7 separate regions of the Homo sapiens genome follow, and all the other regions are linked to region 1. The links are contacts of gene promoters, found by promoter capture Hi-C in blood cells and fetal thymus (Javierre and others, 2016). All regions are on one chromosome and are shown on one strand. The core of a region is centred on a gene start or on the middle of the fragment in contact, and the rest is flanking DNA. Distances in the headings are between cores, read along the strand shown. Region 1 holds the start of TWF1 (twinfilin actin binding protein 1). Region 2 overlaps GXYLT1 (glucoside xylosyltransferase 1). Region 3 has its middle 8.6 kb from the start of GXYLT1. Region 4 overlaps YAF2 (YY1 associated factor 2). Region 5 holds the start of MIR7851 (microRNA 7851). Region 6 overlaps PPHLN1 (periphilin 1). Region 7 overlaps PPHLN1 (periphilin 1).

What was found. Contacts are between HindIII fragments. The CHiCAGO score rates a contact against its expected background, and 5 or more counts as called.
Region 2: a fragment that was not itself captured here is called in contact with the fragment with the promoter of TWF1 in region 1 in 2 of 17 cell types (monocytes and non-activated CD4 T cells); the score reaches 7.0 in monocytes.
Region 3: a contact is called between a fragment that was not itself captured here and the fragment with the promoter of TWF1 in region 1, in 1 of 17 cell types (M0 macrophages). The highest score is 6.0, in M0 macrophages.
Region 4: a contact is called between a fragment that was not itself captured here and the fragment with the promoter of TWF1 in region 1, in 6 of 17 cell types (non-activated CD4 T cells, total B cells, activated CD4 T cells and 3 more). The highest score is 13.7, in non-activated CD4 T cells.
Region 5: a contact is called between a fragment that was not itself captured here and the fragment with the promoter of TWF1 in region 1, in 10 of 17 cell types (total B cells, non-activated CD4 T cells, naive B cells and 7 more). The highest score is 14.2, in total B cells.
Region 6: a fragment that was not itself captured here is called in contact with the fragment with the promoter of TWF1 in region 1 in 1 of 17 cell types (total B cells); the score reaches 5.9 in total B cells.
Region 7: a fragment that was not itself captured here is called in contact with the fragment with the promoter of TWF1 in region 1 in 2 of 17 cell types (M1 macrophages and M0 macrophages); the score reaches 5.6 in M1 macrophages.

What each region holds. Positions count from the first base shown.
Region 1 is chr12:43,804,907-43,807,885 of GRCh38, forward strand. TWF1 (twinfilin actin binding protein 1) reads right to left here and starts at 1,411. Exons shown (of 9, transcript NM_002822.5): 1 at 1,315-1,411. The coding sequence starts at 1,339. It also overlaps a transcript of TMEM117 not described here. RefSeq lists a silencer at 1,107-1,586. The HindIII fragment of the contact is 5,668 bases long and covers 256-2,979 here.
Region 2 is chr12:42,132,629-42,135,607 of GRCh38, forward strand. All of the region lies in intron 1 of GXYLT1 (glucoside xylosyltransferase 1), which reads right to left. Among named protein-coding and RNA genes, the nearest start is that of GXYLT1, 11 kb to the right of the region's middle. The HindIII fragment of the contact is 2,261 bases long and covers 262-2,522 here.
Region 3 is chr12:42,151,959-42,154,937 of GRCh38, forward strand. No RefSeq gene overlaps it. Among named protein-coding and RNA genes, the nearest start is that of GXYLT1, 8.6 kb to the left of the region's middle. The HindIII fragment of the contact is 1,854 bases long and covers 504-2,357 here.
Region 4 is chr12:42,233,242-42,236,220 of GRCh38, forward strand. The region is part of intron 2 of YAF2 (YY1 associated factor 2); the gene reads right to left. Among named protein-coding and RNA genes, the nearest start is that of YAF2, 3.5 kb to the right of the region's middle. The HindIII fragment of the contact is 4,151 bases long and covers 1-2,979 here.
Region 5 is chr12:42,322,676-42,325,654 of GRCh38, forward strand. ZCRB1 (zinc finger CCHC-type and RNA binding motif containing 1) reads right to left here. Exons shown (of 8, transcript NM_033114.4): 2 at 1,344-1,429. The coding sequence starts at 1,427. MIR7851 (microRNA 7851) reads right to left here and starts at 1,184; the gene lies at 1,025-1,184. The HindIII fragment of the contact is 2,399 bases long and covers 267-2,665 here.
Region 6 is chr12:42,340,538-42,343,516 of GRCh38, forward strand. All of the region lies in intron 2 of PPHLN1 (periphilin 1), which reads left to right. Among named protein-coding and RNA genes, the nearest start is that of PPHLN1, 16 kb to the left of the region's middle. The HindIII fragment of the contact is 3,964 bases long and covers 1-2,979 here.
Region 7 is chr12:42,364,112-42,367,090 of GRCh38, forward strand. The region is part of intron 4 of PPHLN1 (periphilin 1); the gene reads left to right. Among named protein-coding and RNA genes, the nearest start is that of PPHLN1, 39 kb to the left of the region's middle. The HindIII fragment of the contact is 753 bases long and covers 1,112-1,864 here.

The DNA.
Region 1 (2,979 bases), core at 161-2,660:
ATATTGAAAACCTGCTTTCATTCTCTAATTCAGTTTCAAGCTTATGACAGACACTCCTTCATCAATTCACTTTCTGTATTTTCCCGTTAAAAACAACAGTATATATCAAATATCCTAACTTGTTTAAAGAAAAAGACAATAAAATGCATTCAGTCTTAACTCTGGTTATATTTTTCTAACTTGCATTTCTCAAAAGCTAGATTAAACTCATTGAATAAATATGTATTTAATAACTAACCCTTGTGTTCCTATTAAAGCTTCAATTTCGTTCTAATTTCGTTCCTGTGTTGTCTATTAGCAGCAAGAACCACTATGTAAGTAGGTAGTGCTTGCTATAAGGCTCAAGCATGAGAGTCAATAACTACATATTTATATATCGAAATTAATGCGGATAAATAAAACAAAGTTTTCAGATTTGAGACTATTTTGCTTCTGCGTGCGTGCAGGGGGATGTGTGCGGTGGTGTCAAAAATCTTTACGAATAAAACATACAATTAAGTGTTCATCTGGGAGAAAGACTCGCTATTAACAGTAAGAGCTTGAGTTTACACTAGAACTCGTTAAGTGATCGCGAGTAACCCGGGGATATATTATTTGACTCTTGATGAGGTGAGTACCTGCAGGCTGCCCAATTTCAAACCAGGAAATAATGGAGGTCAGATATAACTGCATATTGAACTGTCTGCACGCATTACATGCAACCATACAGATCAGTTTCCCTTGGGGAGTATCTAGGAAAAAGATCAAAACACACGCTTACACTCGAGATTTCTCAGAACATAACTCTCATTTTCCTATTTGGAGAGAAAATGCGGGAGAGTTTTGGGAAGCACCCCTACTGATGTGAGAAAGATTCTGGCATGGTTCTTTTTGTAATCAAAGTCCTGTAATATTCTCCTTTGGACCATGAAAAAGAAAACTCGCCTGGTTCTCGACAGCGTACTGAAGCCCCAGTCGCCTCCACTGTCCCAGCTCTTCCCTACGTGACCAAAAGGGGGAAAGTTGGGCGACTGTCGGGGACGGTGGAAGGCACGCCCCCTTCAACCAGGCCGCCTCGAAAGCCAATTTCCTTCGCTCCCCCGAATTTCGGATCAATCTGCAACGTGACGGCAGCAGGGACCGGGCTGGAGGAGGACGCAGGCCGGCAGCGCCCGGGAAGCAGGAGCGCGGAGAGGCGCCGAGGCCCGGCTCGCCCCGCGAGACCGACTTCCGGAGCTCCCGGCCCGACTCCAGCCCTGCCGGTCCTGCAGCCCTCCCGGCTCTCCCGGCTCTCCCGGAAGCCCCTTCCCTGCGAGTCGCGCCGGGCGCTGTTACCTTGGATGCCGGTCTGGTGGGACATGGCGGCGGCCGCTAGCTCCCGGCTCCGGCGCTGAGTGCAGCCAGCGGCCCCGGCCGGCGGCCCCAGGAAGTGGCTGCTCCTCCGCCGGCCCCGGCGCGTCATCCGCCCGCGACCCGCGGCCGCCCCGCCCCGTGAGGTTGACTGAGTGCCCGAGCGTCCCCGCCGCCCCGCCGCCCTTCCTGGCCGCCGGGCTGCGGTCCAGCCCCCGGCCTCGCTATCCTAGTTCTCTGCTTGGGGTCCTGCTTCTGCTCTTGCCGCCGCCTCTCCCGCTTCTTCCGGGGGGGACATGCCGCAGAATCTAGACTGCTCAGTGCTCCGACGTCTGCTCTCTGACAACCCCGCCGACGCCGCCATTCGCTGCCTCAGCAAAGGGGTGCTCAAAAACGGAAGTGATCATTTTACCAAATAGGCATTTTCCAGCTTAAAAAAGATGTGCACATTATTTTTCTTGGTTTACTCTTCCTATAATCGATACCGTTTAGTGTAGAAAAGCCTTCTCCTTGCTCCATTGTTTTGAAAGAATTAATATAGACTGCCTCTCATCAAATTTTTCCACGATTTTAAATTAAGTTAATCTCAGACTGTTAACTTTTCTTTTCAGCTGGACACATTTAGAGACTCAGTGTATCTTTCTCTTCACTCCGGAAAGAGACAGCCACTAAGAGATTAGCTGATTTGAGTATCCCTCTGTGGTCGATTATACCATTGCAAATCCTGCTCTGCTTTAGGTTGGCAGTTTATTATTTAATCCAGTAATTATTCAAAATTCACTTGGACAGATTTGTAAGGTAGCAGCAGATATTACTTAAAAATCTTTTCCTTTCCTGCTTTTACAAACATGTAGTTCCTTCCTGAAAGGTAATGTTAGTTTTGTGGGGGGTTTGGTTTTTTTTTGGTACTGCTTCTCTACTGCTACTAGGTGGGAAGCTAGTTCTTATTTTTAGGGCCTTGAAGTGACACATACACAAAATTATAATCTGCTAATGAAGAAATAATTTATTCAGGTCAATAATATAAGTGCAAGTTAATCACTGTTCCAGTACTATACGATGTATTTTTCATGAGTGATGAACAGGCCTGCAATTGTTTTTCTTTACAAGAATCACAGCAAACAAGGTTATGTTCTATTGCCTGTTATCTGAGCTCTGTTTTTCAGACATATTCTCATATTCAGGAATAAACTAAATCTGAGTTTTATGACTTGTATGGATTTAAGAAATGTAGGGAGGAGTTTCATTCTAATCAAATTCTTCCTGACACAATGGTTCACCCTGATTTACCAGTTTTTGACTACATTGCTGAGCAGAGAGAAAATTGCAGAGTTGACTTGCAGTATTTTGACTGATTCATGTCCTAGTGCTTCGGGGAAATTGCTTAAGGAAGTTGGCGTTGCTCAAAAGTATAGTTGAGCAAAATATAATCCTTCCATATTCGTGCTTGGGAAAGGCCACTGTATTCTCAGTCCTGAAGAAGAGGAATGTCTAGTTAGGTTGGGACCACCCTGACAGCCACCAGAAAGTGCTTATTTACTGCCAGTACAATAGTTTGACTTAAAAGCTGCAAGCGTCTTGGGTACCTTGCTCTGCTCTAGCCACAAATATTTTCCCACTTTTCTTCATCTATTGTGTCTCCATTTAGTG
Region 2 (2,979 bases), core at 142-2,641, 1.7 Mb before region 1:
TGATCTTCGTTAGTCTCAAGAAAACGCCCACGTGAGCTAGAGAGCACACCTCAAACTCCCTGTTCTCAGGAAATATCCACCAGGGAGCTTCTAACTCAAAAGACCCTCTTGCAGTATTACAATTAAACTGTATTTGGGGGCAATGTTTTTGTTTTGTTTTTTTTTTTAAGTTGATGCAAGATGACGAAGCCACAGACATGAGAATTAAATTCAACAAGACCAACATATTGAACAACTCAGTAACGAGTTTAAATTTTGTGAAGCTTTGAGCCACACCAAGAGCCCTACACTTCTGCTAGTACCAAACTAGGTGCCAAGTATGGTGGATTAAGGATGATCACACATCTGACACTTCTATTAATAAGTAGGATCTGCTGCACGCAGTGGTTCATGCCTCTAATCCCAGCACTTTGGGAGGCCAAGGTAGGCGGATCACTTGAGGTCAGGAGTTTGAGAATGGCCTGGCCAACATGGTGAAGCCCCATCTCTAATAAAAAAAATCAGTCAGGTGTGGTGGCGGTTGCCTGTAATCCCAGCTACTCAGGAGGCTGAGGCAGGAGAATCGCTTGAACCCAGGAGGCGGAGGTTTCAGTGAGCCAAGATCATTCCATTGCACTCCAGCATGGGTGACAGAGAAAGACTCTGTCTCAAAAAACCAACCAACCAACCAACCAAGTAGGATCTAACTCCCCTTATCCAGAATCTAAGTGGGCTCTGTGATTGCTTTGACAAATAGAATACTGAATATAATACTGTACCAATGTCCAGGCCCTTCCCTTAAGAGCTCCACATCCTATTTCTTGGAACACTCTTTGAACCTGATCTTCACGTTGTAAGAAGCCCAAGGCACATGCAGAAGCCACTTGAGAGAATGCAGATCAACAGCCTCCACTGAGCTCCTAGTCAAAAGCCAGCATCAACTGCTAGCCATGTAAAAGAGCCACAATGCCACACCATTCTGATCTACCAACCTACTGGTTCCTCCCCAACTCACAGAAAACTAGCATCCGGTTCACAGTCCTCGTCTCAGTACCAAATCCTACTTTCCTCTAACCATTCATTTGGTAAATCAATAAATTTTCTACTGAATGACTACCTACACAGGCCAAACACTGGCAACACTATAGTGAGTAAAATGGACATGGATCATACTGTCTAGTGGGGAGTAACAGAATGTCATTTCAGATACTGCAAGGTGAGAGACCTAACCAACACCCAGGTTACACAATTCTTTAAATCCAGTAACTCTTACCTCCTTTTCCCTTCAGTGAAAAATGGCAAATGCTGGCCGGGCACAGTGGCTCACACCTGTAATCCCAGCACTTTAGGAGGCCGACGTGGGTGGATCGCTTGAGCCCAGGAGTTCAACACCAGCCTGGGCAACATGGCAAAACCCCATCTCTACAAAGAATAAAAAAAAAATTAGCCAGGCATGGTGGTGTGTGCCTGTAGTCCCAGTTACTCGGGAGGCTGAGTTAGGAGGATAGTTTGAGCCCAGGAGTTTGAGGCTACAGTGAATTGTGATCATGCCAATGCACACCAGGTCTGGGCAACAGAGTGAGACCCTCTCTGACAAAAGAAAAAAAAAGAGAGAGAGAAGAAAAAGTAAAAAAATGACAAATCCTGGACCCTGTCAGAAACTGCAATCCAATACCTCATCTCAGACTAGTCTCTGATCTAATAATTATGGTTCTTTTTTCTGAGACAGGGTCTTGCTCTGTCGCTCAGGGTGGAGTGCAGTGGTACAAACACAGCTCACTACAGCCTCAATCTCCTGGGCTCAAGCTATCGTCCTGCCTCAGTCCCCAAGTATCTAGGACTATAAGCATGTGCCACCAAGCCTAATTTTTAAAAAATTTTTTGTAGAGACAAAGTTTTGCTTTGTTGCCCAGGCTTATTATTTATATCCCATTACATGTGTGGAAATCACTCAGCCCTCCAATCACATGCTTCCTAAGTATAAGCTCCCTGCTTTACCCATTTCCCTCCCTACTCAGACTACATCATATGGTTCATCCATTCATGTTCCTATACCTGCAAACTTCCACCTTCTTCTTTCACCGTACCTTTTCAGCACAATCTTCAGTTGAAACTGAGCTGTTCATTCACATTCTCAGATGAATACTGAAGAACAGTTAATGACATGACTATGCTGATTAGTAGAAATATAAATTAATTGTCTTCCCCTTAGCTAGTCTCATACCTATTACCAACTCCATATGCTTCCCCTTGTTGCCCATCTTCTTCTCAGGAGTCCTTAAAGACCTTCTTGCATCAATTAGTCTTTCTTTCTCCTTAACTGGCAATCTCTATTTGTGTAGTAGACTGTATTACTGTTCAGTTATTCACTCCCCACATTTAACTGTAAAAGGATTATACAACCCTATTCATTACCATGGGCCTTGCCTGCCTGATAAGGGAGGCATATATCCCTGCATCATTTATTGACTTTGACCTTATTCAAGTGACTTGCTTTGGCCAAAATAATATAAAAAGACATGATACTGTGGCATCAAAGTAGAAGCTTCAAATGGGACTGTGTTGTTCAATCTGGCTTCTTGCTCATCCACTACCACAAGACCAGGCATATCCAATGTATGGATTGCTCCTTTAGCTTGGATCCCAGGATGAGAAGATATATCAAGCAAAGTCATAGCCATAGACATGTAATGTGTGCAAGAAATAAATGCTTGCTATTGTAAACTGTTTAGATGTATGGGGTTGTTACAAAGCAAAGCAGAATAATACAAGCATAATTCCCTTTTAAAGTGTGTAATTCAATGGTTTTTCGTATATTCAGAGTTGTGCAACCATGACTCACCAATTAAATTCCTCAGTATATACTCAAGAGAACTGAAAACATGTTCACAGAAAAACTGTCCATGAATGCTCAGAGCAGCATTATTCATAATAGCCAAAAAGTATGAAAGAACTCAAATGTCCACCAAATAATGAGCAAAATGTGGTATATCCATACAA
Region 3 (2,979 bases), core at 181-2,680, 1.7 Mb before region 1:
CTGTAATCCCAGCTACTCAGGAGGCTGAGGCACGAGAATTCTTGAACCCAGGAGGTAGAGGTTGCAGTGAGCCAAGATTGCACCACTGTACTCCCGCCTGGGTGACACAGTGAGATTCTGTCTCCAAAAAAAAAAAAAAAAAAAGAATAGAAAAGAAAAGAGAATCCAGAAACAAGTCCACACAGCTACAATGAATTCATTTTTGACAAAGGTGCCAACAATATACAATGGGAAAAGACAATCTCTTCAATAAATGGTGCTGGGAAAACTGGATATCCATATGCATAAGAATGAAACTAGACCCCTATCTCTCACCGTATACAGAAATCCAATCAAACTGGATTAAAGACTTAACTCTAAGACCTCAAACTATGAAATTACTAAAAGAAAACATTGGGGAAAATCTCCAGGACCTTGGTCTTGGCAAAAATTTCTTGAGTAACACCCCAAAAGCACAGGCAACCAAAGCAAAAATGGACAAATGGAATCATATCAAGTTGAAAAGCTTCTGCACAGCAAAGGAAACAACAACATGAGGAAACCCACAGAATTGGAGAAAATATTTGCAAACTACCCCTCTGACCAGGGATTCATAACCAGAATATATAAGGAGCTCAAGCAACACTCTGTAGGAAAAAAAAATCTAATAATCCAATCAAAATATGGGCCAAATGTTTGAATAGACATTTCTCAAAAGAAGATGTACAAATGGCAAACAGGCATATGAAAAGGTGCTCAAGATCACTGATCATCAGAGAAATGCAAATCAAAACTACAATGAGATATCATCTCACCCCAGTTAAAATGACTTTTATCCAAAAAACAGGCAATAACAAATGCTGGCAAGGATGTGGAGAAAAGGGAATCCTTGTACATTGTTGGTGGGAATGTAAATTAGTACAACCACTATGGAGAACAGGTTGGAGGTTCCTCAAAAAAAAAACTAAAAATTGAGCTACCATAGTATCCAGCAATCCCATTGCTGGGTATATACCCAAAAGAAAGGAAATCAGTATATTGAAGAGATATCTGCACTCTGGTGTTTATTACAGCACTGTTTACAATAGCTAAGATTTGGGAGCAAAGTAAATGTCCATCAACAGATGACTGGATAAAGAAAATGTGGTACATACAAACAATGGAGTACTACTCACCCATAAAAAACATGAGTTCCAGTCATTTGCAACAACATGGATGGAACTGGAGATGATTATGTTAAGTGAAATAAGCCGGGGTCAGAAAGACAAAAATCCCATGTTCTCACTTATTTGTGGGATCTAAAAATTAAAACAGTTAAACTCATGGAGACAGATAGTAGAAGGATGGTTACTAGAGGCTGGGAAGGGTAGATGGTGGGGGTGGTGAGGATAGTTAATGAGTACAAAAAAATAGAATGAATAAGACCTTCTATTTGATAACATAATTGTACATTTAAAAATAACTAAAAGAGTATAATTGGATTGTCAGTAACACAAAGGATAAATGCTTGAGGAGATGGATACTCCAATCTCCATGATGTGATTATTATGCATTACATGTCTGTATCAAAACATCTCATGTACCCTGTAAATATATACACCTATGTACCCACAGAAATTAAAAATTAAAAAACAAAATGTGTTCACCGTCATTTTCTTTGTCCTTTAGAAGTCTTCTCCCAAACTAGTTTTATAACCTTCCAACTCTTCCCATTCTTGCTGACTCCAAAAGTAAACACAGGACCATTTTATTGTTGGATTATGAATTAAAAGAGGATAATGAAAATAATATCCATTTAGTTTCTGAATTTTCTTGCTAAAAGATTTATTAGAAAAATGATGATGAGGTGGTAGCTTTCATCCAAACTCCCTTCTTCCAGGTAGGTCAGCCGATTTAAATCTAGATGTAATCTAAAGACCTACTAAAACTGTATGTATTATTTCCACTCCTCAGGAATTCCAGATGGGGAGGTATGTATCTCACTGGATCCTTGCCCCAAATAGTTCCCCTAGGAGTTTATTCTTACAACTTGAAATAAGGAAGATTTTTTTTTTAAATACTATTTGGCCTGATTTACACTAGATATTTGTGGCCATTTATAAAAACAAAAGAAAAACAAGTAGATAAAAATCAAACTCTGGAAAAATACAAAAAAGATCAAGAATAAGAAATTAGATTAAAATAGAAAAAGAGCCACCACCAGCCTCCATGGCTCACACCTATAATCCCAATACTTTAGGAGGCCAACTCGAGAGGATGGCTTGAGCCCAGGAGTTCAAGACCAGCCTGGGCAATGTTGTGAAACCCAATATTTATAAAAAATACGAAAAGAAGAAGAAAAAATTATATTTCACAATTTATTATTTGTCATGATGTGAAGCTTGAATCTTTATATTAAATCTTTTCCTCTGATTAAAAAAAAGACTAAAAAGTTAGAATGCAGATAAGCAGACAACCAAGGCTACATAATTATTAAAACTGAACTCAATTTTTTTTTTTTTTTTTTTTTGAGATGGAGTCTCGCTCTGTCACCCAGGCTGGAGTGCAGGGGTGGGATCTCTGCTCACTGCCACCTCCATCTCCTGGTTTCAAGCAATTCTCCTGCCTCAGTCTCCCAAGTAGCTGGGATTACAGGTGCCTGCCACTATGACCAGCTAATTTTTTGTATTTTTAGTAGAGACGGGGTTTCACCGTATTGGCCAGGCTGGTCTCGAACGCCCGACCTCAGGTGATCTGCCCACCTCGGCCTCCCAAAGTGCTGGGATTACAGGTGTGAGCCACCGCACCCAGCCTGAACCCAATTTTAATAGGAGATTTCTCACAACTACAGCAAAAATATCGGGCAACCAATTAATAATCTGCTTTGTCCATAAGGAAAAGGCAATTTCTCAGGTGAAGTAAAGCTCTTTCTGAAATAAATCTGAATAAAATTTCTTTTGGACAGAGTGATGTAATACGCTTCTTCATCTACAAAAAGGACATAGCAGACCTCATTCAGCT
Region 4 (2,979 bases), core at 357-2,856, 1.6 Mb before region 1:
CTGTTATAATATCCTCTAACAAAATGTAACATTACCTGTTACATTTGAAAGCCTGGTATGAACCATTTAGACCACAGTTTGAAACCCAAACCAATAATTCTATCATTTTCATTTCTAAATATTTGCTATCTGAATTAAGCAATATTAAGTAACTGTCCACTACTAGATGAAGTACCAATAAGACACCAGTCTTAAATTAATCATCACACATTGATTATCACCCTCATACAGACTATCCTTAATATTTAATATTTCATTTTCTCTGATGACTCAGAATTTTGTTTTTTTGAGACAAGGTCTCACTCTGTTGCCCAGGCTGGAGTGCAGTGGTATGATCACAGCTCACTGCAACCTCGAACTCTGGGGCTCAAGGGATCCTCCCACTTCAGCCTCCTGAGTAGCTGGGACCACAGGCATGCACCACCACACCCAGCTAATTTTTTTAATTTTTAGTAGAGACGAGATCTCACTGTGTTGCCCAGGTTGGTCTCAAACTCCTGGCCTCAAGAAATCCTCCTGTCTCAGCCTCCCAAGGTGCTGGGCTTACAGGTGTGGGCCACTGGGCCAGCCAAGAATGATCCTTAATTTCCTAAAGTTTCTTGCATTTATATTTGGGACATTTCTTGCCTTATAAGAATCTTCAGATAGGCTGGGCACAGTGTCTCACTCCTGTAATCCCAGCACTTTGGGAAGCCGACGCAGACGGATCACCTGAGGTCAGGAGTTTGAGACCAGCCTGGCCAGCATAGTGAAACCCCATCTCTACTAAAAATACAAAAATTAGCCTGGTGTGGTGGCGGGCACCTGTAATCCCAGCTACCACAGAGGCTGAGGCATGAGAATTGCTTGAACCTGGGAGGTGGAGGTTGCAGTGAGCCGAGGTCACGCCACTGTACTCCAGCCTGGGCGACAGAGCAAGACTGTCTCAAATTCTGCCTCAAAAAAAAAAAGAGAAAAGAAAAGAAAAGAAAAGAAAAGAAAAGAAAAGAAAGAAAAGAAACTTCAGATATAAAGACTGTGCAGCATCTTGAAAATAATGTGTCACCGTGGCATTTTGTTTCCTTTTAAAAAATTTCCTGTCAGTTTGACATTTACTACTGTTTCTCTCACAAAAGCACAATGTAAAAAATTTTGGAGTGAGGGGCTGAAAAATGACCTGTTGGGTATAACGTTCACCATTTGGGTAATGGGTACACTGGAATCCCAATCCCACCACTCTGCAATATACCCAAGTAACAAACATGCACATGTACCCCAAAATCTAAAATAAAATTAAAACTTGAGGAACTGAAGCTACAACAAATCATTTTATTTTGAAATACATGCCATGAATGTAACTTCGTTCTCTAGAAAGACATGACCTACCATGGATATAGCCAAAGGAAATGGGCTTCTGTTGCATAAAGAATTTGAACTTAATATTATTTAAAGAAAAAAAATTATATTGCCAATAAAGACTTTAAAGGGGCCGAATGGTGGCTCATTCCTATAATCCCAGTTCTTTGGGAGGCCAAGGTAGGAGGATCACTTGAGCTCAAGAGTTTGAGACTAGCCTAGGCAACATAGAGATCCCCCATCTCTACAAAAAATAAGAAAATTAGCCACACATGGTGGTGTGCATCTGTAGTTTCAGCTACTTGGGAGGCTGAGGTGGGAGGATTCCTTGAACCTGGGAGTTCGAGGCTGCAGTGAGCCTGGATGATGCCACTGCAACCCAGCCTGGGCAACAGAATGAGATCTTATCTCAAAAAAGAAAAAAGAAAAAAAGAAGACTTCAAAGGTAGAACAAGGACTCAATCTTCTCTGCAGGTCTAAAAAGAAAAAAGTTTTTCAAATGTCTAGAATGGCTTAGACTTGGCCTAACATTTGGCAATGAGGCAGAATCAGTTCAAAGGTCAGTCTGACCCAAAGGATTCAAATCCCATCTGTGCGTCACACAAACAAATCATTAGCAAACTGCATCCTTCTGCTCTGCAGCTATCCAGTCTTGGCTTTAGTACTTGCCAACCTTACTCTGGAAATTACCCTGTTCATTAATAAGTCAATTATGGAGAATTATTTCTTCCAACTACTGAAACTTTTGCTTCTCAACACCGTTCTGCAGTCCTTTAATCTTGTTTTTTTAACATTACCAGAGAGGAAAAATATTAATATTCTGTGATGCAATCAATATCTTCTCTAGTAACAATACCCTGTTCCACACTGTTCTATACAAACACAGATTCTACCCTGAATTTCAGAAACCACTAGGAAAATAACAGATAACAGAGAAATTAGAGCTCTTAGGTTTAACTTAGAGCCAAAATCAAAAGAGAAGAGAATTCAGAGAGAGGAAGGAAGAAGCTGAGAGGGTCGTGGTGTAGAACACTTACTTTCAGGAACACAGTGTCCCTTAGATTTCTGGTGAGTTGCCCAGAGCCTCTTCAGTTTCAATCCAAATGACAATGCTTCTCTGAGTCCTCCTCAAGTAATGTTTCCACCACTAAAAATTGGATCTACAAGAGCTTAGATGTACTGGTAAAAAAAAAAAATGTCAGGGGCCCCCATGTGGGCCTCAAGCCTCTTTTAAACTAGGCCCACTTCTCTGTCCTGGGCCAACTCCCCTGTGTACTATATTCCTTCTTCTTCCAGGTGCCAGGTATTCAGCCTGTTTCTTCTCTTCTGAGCTGCCACCACCTACTCTATTTCTCAGGGTTCCTCTAACCCCAAGACTGGCTGTGGAGTAGGACACCAGCTTCCCCCCTTCCTTGCTGTCCCTGCAAATAAACATATAGGCTCTTCTAGTTTCAGTATTTTTCTAATGGCTACAAGAAAATAGAGAGGGAACAACAAAAAGCAATAATATATAGTACCAGAGATCAAGATTATAATTGTTTCCACTTTAATGTTCCTGCCTCCAAAAAACGAATTTTCTAAAAATTGCTTATTGAGCATTTTAAAAAGCACAAAGTACTAACACAGATACACAAATATACTCTA
Region 5 (2,979 bases), core at 216-2,715, 1.5 Mb before region 1:
CAGAGAAAAAAACTCACTCTACACATGTGGTAGATCTAAGGCATACATACTGGACAGCTGCTGTGTTCCTGAGGTATACCCATGGCAACTATCAACTCCATCATAGTGCCAGATACACCTGTGCTTCAAATGTCAATCTTATGGAGCAGCACTTTTCCAATTCTACCCTCACCACTACCTTGTTATTCCTATTAAGCAATCCCTGTTTGAGAAGGCAAATCCTTAGACTGCTTTATTTAAAAAACAAAACAAAACCTCATAAAATAAGCTTTTATAATGAAAAATCCATTTCTATCAGTCTTCTTCCTCTGCCCACCATTAACATGTTGGTGGAACTTTATACTTGGCTCTCTCTTCTGTTACTTTTACTTTATCCTATGCAATCTCATTTATTTCTACAGTTCCAGCTCATTACCCATATACTAAGAGTTCCTATTATATAAAAAGTCTTTTAGAATGTGTTAGTATATGCAACCAATAATAACGAATTTTTTCGTTCTATGATTAAGCTGTATAATGCTGGAATGTAAAATAACTGGATAGCAGTGTTAGCAACACTGGGTTCTGAAGGCCAGTACAGTCTTCTATATAATACTTACTAATGGCTTCTTGTTTCATGCAGAGTGAAAGCCAGAGTCCTTACCATGATGTAAATAGGTCGTATAAGGCACCTCGAGTGGGCTTACCTAAGATTACCCCTCTTTTTCTGAAATGTTTGTCCTCTAGAATTTGCACAGGTGCCTCTTACTCGTTTCAGGTCTTTATTCAAAAGTCACCTTCTCAATAATGGCATTTCTGACCGCCCTATGTAAAATTTCACTTCCATTCCCAACTTAACGTTCAATAGCCCACCTTTCCTGCGTTATTTTTTCTCCTTAGCACCTAACATCTTAGCATCTCCTTAGTATCTAACACATAATTTGACTTAAATGTTCAATAAATATAGCTTCTATTTTTTTTTCTTTTTTTTTTTTGAGACAGGGTCTCATTCTGTCACCCAGGCTGGAGTGCAGTGGTGTGACCTTGGCTCACTGTCGCCTCGACCTCCTAGGCTCAAGCAATCTTCCAACCTCAGTCTCCCAGGTAGCTTGTAGAGGCATGGTGGCACACACCTGTATTCCCAGCTACTTGGGAGGATGAGGTGGGAGGATCACCTGAGGGGGCGGGGAGGCTGCAGTGAGCCATGATAGTGCCACTGCACTACAGCCTCGTGCCTCAGTGACAGAATTAGACTGTCTCAAAAAAAGAAAAAAAAAAAAAGGAAAAAAGAATTTGCCAGGGAGAACTATTTGCTTAAGGTTATCTGTATCTCAAATAGCAGTCACTCGATAAGATTTACTTACCCGGTACAAGTCATTGTTTGTCAGGGAAAAAGGCAAGTTGGATACATACACTGTGCTCTTACTTGGAGCCAATCCACCACTCATTTCTAAAAGTGAAAACAAACTTATCAGCAATCAGTCTAAACCAGGATTCTTTTTTTGTTGTTTGAGACGGAGTTTCCCTCTTGTTGCCCAGGCTGGGGTGCAATGGCGTGATCTCGGCTCACTGCAACCTCTGCTTCCCAGGTTCAAGCAATTATCCTGCCTCAGCCTCCCGAGTAGCTGGGATTATAGGCATCCACTACCATGCCTGGCTAATTTTGTATTTTTAGTAGAGACAGTGTTTCACCATGTTGGTCAGGCTGGTCTTGAACTCCTGACCTCAAATGATCCACCTGCCTCAGCCTCCCAAAGTGCTGGGATTACAGGCATGAATCACCACACCTGGCCTAAACCAAGTATTATTAATTCCAAATAAAACCAATACATCAGACCAGTCTGGGTATTATTTGGAAAAAAACAAAAAACAAAAACCAATAAAGTATTAACAATCACCGATTTAATTATGCCAGATGTGTACACCTTCCTTACATTTTAGGAAGTTAGGAACAATGACTCCAGCAGGCTGAATTAAGGAATTCCTTTTTCCCAGTCACCACTTAAAAAAAATTCTTTTTTGGTTCTTCTTCTTTCAAGTATTCTTTATACCAACACTTTCAGTGCCAGATTGTATGGGTAGGGAGACGGGTTTTGAACAGATGAAGGAAAAACCCTGAGGCTACTCCTAACTTCCACTCAGACCATGAGCAAAAAAAATGCTCTATTGAATATGTACTGTATATGTACATTACCTGCACCTTGCTCACCCAGGTCAGAAAGAGCATGGGGACTCAGACAGAACCTTAGCCACTGATTTTTGCTAATACACAGTCATGCTATGCTTAATGAAGGAGGTATGTTCTGAGTGTTACGTGATTTCACAGTGCAGACATCACAGGGTGTACTGAGACAAACCTAGATGGTCTAGCCTATTGCTCCTAGGCTACAACCTGTACAGCATGTTAATGTAGTGAATAATGTAGACAGTTGAAACACAATGGTAAATATTTACATAGCTAAACACAGAAAACGTACACTAAAAATATGGTACAATGTATTACACTCTTAGGAGACCACTGTGGTATATGTGGTTTGTTGTTAATCAAAAAGTTGTTATGCTGTGCATGCCTGTACTATGGCTGGGTACCTTTTTTGCTTGTCTTAATATTTTTTTTCTCTGGAGTGGTGTGTTAAGAGGAAAATTTTCTTTTCCCCTTTTAGTATGATGTTAAGGAGTAAATTTAAGCTTTATGTATCGACAATATAAACTTCTTTCGAAACGCTAATTTTGCTTATTGCCAAATTATGAAATGATACATTATATAAATAGGCTTGGTGCCTCGAAGAGACAGACCTGTAGGTATGTGTGTATATGTATATAAAGTTTACAAATGTAATCAGTAATTTTCACATCTTATCTTACAAAGTCAGCAAATTACCGTGAAAATATCAGGCTCAACCAAATTCAAATTTCTGATTTAAAAAGAGCGTGCGGTGTGTATTTGAGATGGGAAGATCAACCATCACAAATGGAAAAATACTGACTCTATGGCATGCC
Region 6 (2,979 bases), core at 213-2,712, 1.5 Mb before region 1:
ACTTCACAAATATAATATTAAAAGAAAGAAGTCAGTCACAAGAGTTTATTCTGCGTGTTTCATTTTATGTAACATTCCAAAACAAGTGAAACTAGCTGGGAAAGTGGTTTCTTTTGGGAAGAGGCAGTAGTGACTGGGAGACCGCACAATGAACGATTTTGCTGCGCTGGGAATATTCTCTTTCTTAATCTGGGTGGTACTTACACCTTGTGAAATTTATCCATTTGTGATTTGTACACTTTTTTATATGTATGGCATACCTCAAAAGTTTTGAAAAGGCAGATTTTTTTTGCAAAATATAAAACTAGTTAAGTTGATAACCCACTATCGTTAGTGCTTGGAATAGAGGAAGGTAACATTCTATTTTGTTTTATGTATTTGAATCCTGTTCTTTATCAAAAAACAATTTTACAGAATTTCTCTCCCTTTTTTTCTTTCTTTCTTTCTTTTTTTTTTTTTTTGAGATGGAGTTTTGCTCTGTCGCCCAGGTTGGAGTGCAGTGGCATGATCTCAGCTCACTGCAACCTCTGCCTCCCAGGTTCAAGCGATTCTTGTGCCTCAGCCTCCCTGAATAGCTGGGATTACAGGCGCCTACCACCACGCTTGGCTATTTTTTGTATTTTTTAGTAGAGGTGGGGTTTTGCCATGTTGACCAGGCTGGTTTCAAACTCCTGACCTCAGGTGATCCGCCTCGGCCTCCCAAAGTGCTGGGATTACAGGCGTGAGCCATCGTGCCCGGCTTCTCCGTTTTTTCTTAGTACACTCTTTGCCCCATTTATGATCAATTCTGATACAAAATAAATGTATTTGAGGAACTACTAGATGTGATATAAAGTGCAACGTGAAGTGGTGACTGTTGGGAAGGTAAGGTACCTTCTGTAGTAGTATGACCTCGTTAATAAAAGCAGCTGTTTTCTGAGTTTCTAGCCTTGATAAACCTGAAAAGACAATTGAACACTAATATACTTTGGTTTTGATGTTAAATTATACTTAATTTGAGTTTTGGCAAACTTATCCTCAATATACAGCTTAACAAATGTACCAGTCATTATTTTAGCACTTTATGGTATGCTTTTAAATTATTATTATTATTATTATTTTTTGAGGCGGAGTCTGGCTCTATCGCCCAGGCTGGAGTGCAGCGGGCGATCTCGGCTCACTGCAAGCTCCGCCTCCCGGGTTCACGCCATTCTTCTGCCTCAGCCTCCCGAGTAGCTGGGACTATAGGCACCTGCCACCACGCCCGGCTAATTTTTTGTATTTTTGGTAGAGACGGGGTTTCACCGTGTTAGCCAGGATGGTCTCGATCTCCTGACCTCGTGATCCGCCTGCCTTGGCCTCCCAAAGTGCTAGGATTATAGGTGTGAGCCATCGCGCCCAGGCGCTTTTAAATTCTTTATGTATAAATAGTAAGTCACTTTTATAAGGGGCTTTCACAGAAATTTTTATTTGGCCTTAAACTTGGGTAGGTAGGTAGCAGACTAAAGTTCAAAGAAGTGCACTACAGAGATTTTGTATGTAAATATATATGCTTCTTCTATAGGAAGGAAATCAGTCACCACAGAATATCTACACTTCTAGGTACCTGTAAAGCTCTTGTTTTTAAAGCATGCTTTCTGTCTTTAAACCTATAATTTCTATGAGCTTAGTTATCTGATTTCTTAACCTTTATCAAGTTTTGTGACAGAATGGCATTCATTCATTCATTCATTCATTCATTCGTTCATATGTACATACACACAGGGTCTTGCTATGTCATCCAGCTGAAGTGCAGTGGAGCAGCCACAGCTCACTGCAGCCTCAGACCCCTGGGCTCAAGTGATCCTCTCACCTTGGCCTCCCAGATCGTTGGGATTACAGGCATGAGGCACCATGCCCAGCCCAGAATGGCTTTTAAATACATGTAAACTTCCACTTATGGGGTTCCAGCTTCTTAGCCTGTTGGAGAACAGTTAGGTAATATGGAACATTTTAATGAAGCTGCAACATAAAATGTCGATTTTTTCATTAGCTTATTTGAAAATGGGAGAGAAGTTCCAGTTTCAGAATTTTTAAAAGTTGTAATGTTTGGAAATTAGGATCAGAGCACTAGCAGTTTATATTCTGGGCAATTACAACAGAGCTGGGGCTGAAGCAGTCCTATCTGCTTATCCCTGCTTCATTTTTCTGTTTCTTTAACAAATACATTATTTTGCATTAAAAGATTTTTCTGGTTTTGGCAGCAGCAGGGAGAACAATATTGACTAGTAGTGATGTCAAGAACAGCAACACGTTATTTTTCTGTCACATTTGTGGTAAATATGAGTTACATAATTAGTTTTTGTAATTAAGTAGTTAAATAACAATATTTACTTCCTTAGATTAATTGAATCTTTTTTATAATTCTTGTCATTGTTTATTTCTCTCTCCTAGAGAGTTTGGCCAATCAAAAATAAATCCTTTAGTAAATCCAGAACATGATTTTGTTAATATCTGAGCCTTTATAGGGAATAGATGGGATGCATATCAGTTCCACCTGTTCTCAAATGTAAATGTACTCAAACCATAATCCAGACATTTTTCTTTTGACTAACTTGACAGTCAGGTCTACTTAATTTAGTAATTCAGTTATATACATATTCCATATAACATTGTTTAAAATGTATTAATGTTGAAATATTTTTTCTTTCCATTCTTATTTCATGAAACACTTTTATTCAAAATCTTCACAGGCATATTTAAATTTCTGTTCTTTTTATGCCCCACATATTATTATTGTTTTATACAGTCATCAGTGTTCATGTAAATTTTCCCATGTAAGTACAACTTCCCAATATTTTATTATGGAATTTTTCAAACATACATCAGTCAAAAGAATTTTTATAGTGACCATCCATATACTCCCCATTTAGACTCAACTATTAACATTTTACTAAACTTGCTTTATCATGTATTTATTCATGCAATTAATCCATCTATGTTTTTGAATACATTTCAAAG
Region 7 (2,979 bases), core at 238-2,737, 1.4 Mb before region 1:
TACTCAGGAGACTGAGGCATGAGAATTGCTTGAACCTGGGAAGCGGAGGTTGCAGTGAGCCAAGATTGCACCACTGTACTCCAGCTTGGGCAACAAGAGCAAAACTCTGTCTCAAAATAAAATAATAATAGTAATAAATCTTAGGATGGAACTGATTTGAAGTATTATATAATGTTGAAAAATATGGAACAAGAGTGTCATCAAGTGGCCAATATACTTTACTTTTAAATGCTAGGGGCTGGGTGTGGTGGCTCACACCTGTAATCCCAGTACTTTGGGAGGCTGAAGTGGGAGGATAGCTTCAGCCCAGAAGTTCGAGACCAGCCTGGGCAACATAAGGCGACCCCATTTCTACAAAAAAAATTAAAAAATAAGTTGGATGTGGTGGCATGCGCTTGGTACCTTTGGAAGCTGATGTGGGAGAATTGCTTGAGCCTGGGAGGTTGAGGCTGCAGTGAGCTGTGATCACACCATTGCACTCCACCCTGGGTGACAGAGTGAGACTCTGTCTCAAAAAATTTTTAAAAAGGCCAGGCAGGTGGCTCATGCTTGTAATCTAAGCACTTTGGGAGCCCGAGGTGGGTGGATCACCTGAGGTCAGGAGTTTGAGACCAGCTTGGCCAACATGGGGAAACCCCATCTCTACTAAAAGTACAAAAATTATCTGGGTATGGTGGCATGCTCCTGTAATCCCAGCTGCTCGGAAGGCTGAGGCACGAGAATCACTTGGACCTGGGAGGCGGAGTTTGCAGGCGAAGGCGTGCTGTTGCACCCCAGCGTGGGCGACAGAGGGAGACTCCGCCTTAAAAAAACAAACAAAGTTCTAGTTGGAAGATCTCTTAGTCCATATCTTATGCCTGGAATACTTTCGTTTGTTCTACTTTTTCTAGAATGCTTTTAACTGTAAACATGTGATTTTGTGGAAACAGCCTTGAACTTGACCACCAAACTTCTAATCTGAACTCAAGCAGGCAGACAGGTGTTTGATTTTTTGATAGGATAGAAGAAGAGGTGATATGGAAAATTCCTCAGCTTAAGTCGCAGTGTCTGTGGTTTTCCGTTTCCACATTTAAAATAAAAGATATTTGAGGTTGTACTTCACTTATTCTTAAGCTTGCCTTGCTAATTACCTGGCTGCTTTCTCAAAATAATTCTTGAAATCGTAATTCTTTTTGGAAGTCCCTATTGACTAGAAAGGAAGTAGCCAATATTTTATATGAATATTTGTGTATATTTGGATGTGGGAAGGAGAGAAAAATGAGGTTCAGAATAAGAAGTAAATGCTTTCCATCTCCCCATTCTTCCCTTCCCTTGTATCCCTTTCTCCCACTTTGTCGAATTTTACTCATAACCGGTGAACATATGTCTGCTGACACTGAGGGTTCTATCACCGCTTACCTGGTTTGACTGATGTGAGGGGCGGGAATTACCTTGGGGATTTGTATTAACAGGAGAATCTGAGCTTCAAAAATCTGCTTTTCAAATAAGCATCTAAAGTAATCTGCAATCACAGATGGTTCAAGGACCACATTTTGAGAGACAGTGCCTTATGGGGTGTTAGTTCTTCCCTTCCTCCATTCTCCTGATGACTTTGCGTCTTTTATATGCCAGCCAGTATAGCTGGAGTGTTTGCGATATAGCCAAAGACACTGTCCTAACTCTCAGGCTGTGTACTCTTTGATAATAAAAAGCATCAGTTTCGTCAGATGTGTTTTTTGGAGGCCTCATAATCCTGGTTGTATTGTTATTTATATTTCTTCAAAGGCCCTTTTTGATTCATCGTATAGTTCATTGTATTGAATGCATTGTATCATATATGTTGATACCTTCATTTCCAACATAGCTAGAAACCTATAGTTTTGAAAGCTTTTGTTGTAAGTTTTCTCTCCATGGTAAATGGACCTTTGTCTTACTTGCAGTTTTTACCTGGTGATTTATGGAACAGTATTAAAAATATGTCCAGACTTTAATATACTGTTTCTCTATTTAGCATGCTTCAGGGTTATGGATAAAACAACAAAAAAATCCTTAAAATCGAGATGATACTTGCACAAAGAAAATTATACTAGTTGATACTGAGTGGTTTTTACAGCTAACCACTAGTACCGGACACTTTTTTTTTTTTTTTTTTTTTGAGACAGAGTCTCACTCTGTCGCCCAGGCTGGAGTGCAGTGGTGCGATCTCGGCTCACGGCAGCTTTCACCTCCCAGGTTCAAGTGATTCTCTTGCCTCAGCCTCCTGAGTAGTTGGGATTACAGGCGTACGCCACCATGCCTGGCTAATTTTTGTATTTTTAGTAGAGACGGGGTTTCACCATGTTGGCCAGGCTGGTCTGGAACTCCTGAACTCAGGTGATCTGCCCTCCTCGGCTCCCAAAGTGCTGGGATTACAGGTGTGAGCCTGCACCTGGCCTTTCTTGTTTTTTTTTGTTTTTGTTTTTGTTTTTGTTTTTTTGAGACAGGGTTTCCCTGTCCCTGTGTTGCCCAGGCTGGTCTCTAACTCCTAGGCTCAAGCAATTTGCCTGCCTCAGCCTCCCAAAGTGCTGGAATCACAGGCCTGAGCCACCGTGCCCCAGTGAGTTGGCATTTTAAACACAGGTTTTAGAACTTTCCTGGAGGCTGAGTGAATATTTTTAAAGATTAAGTGTCTCCTTAAGCTTTATCATGAATAATATGCAACACTTGGGTTTGGCTAGAAATCACTAGGGATTTAATGGTCCTAAAAAGGGAAATACTACTCTGGCCCATAAATCAAGGTTAAACTTCTAGGGTCCACACAGAGATAAAATATTAGATAGGACTGCAAATATGACTGTCAGAACGCCTTTCTTATCTTCATGAACAAGTTTTTTTTCTCTCTCTGTACACAGCCATACATTCATGTCTGTAAATACCTGGCTTTTTTAGGCTCAGTTTCACAAAATGTTGCAGAATGCTTTTAATTCTTTCTCATTCTTCTCATCACAATTAACTGTTGAA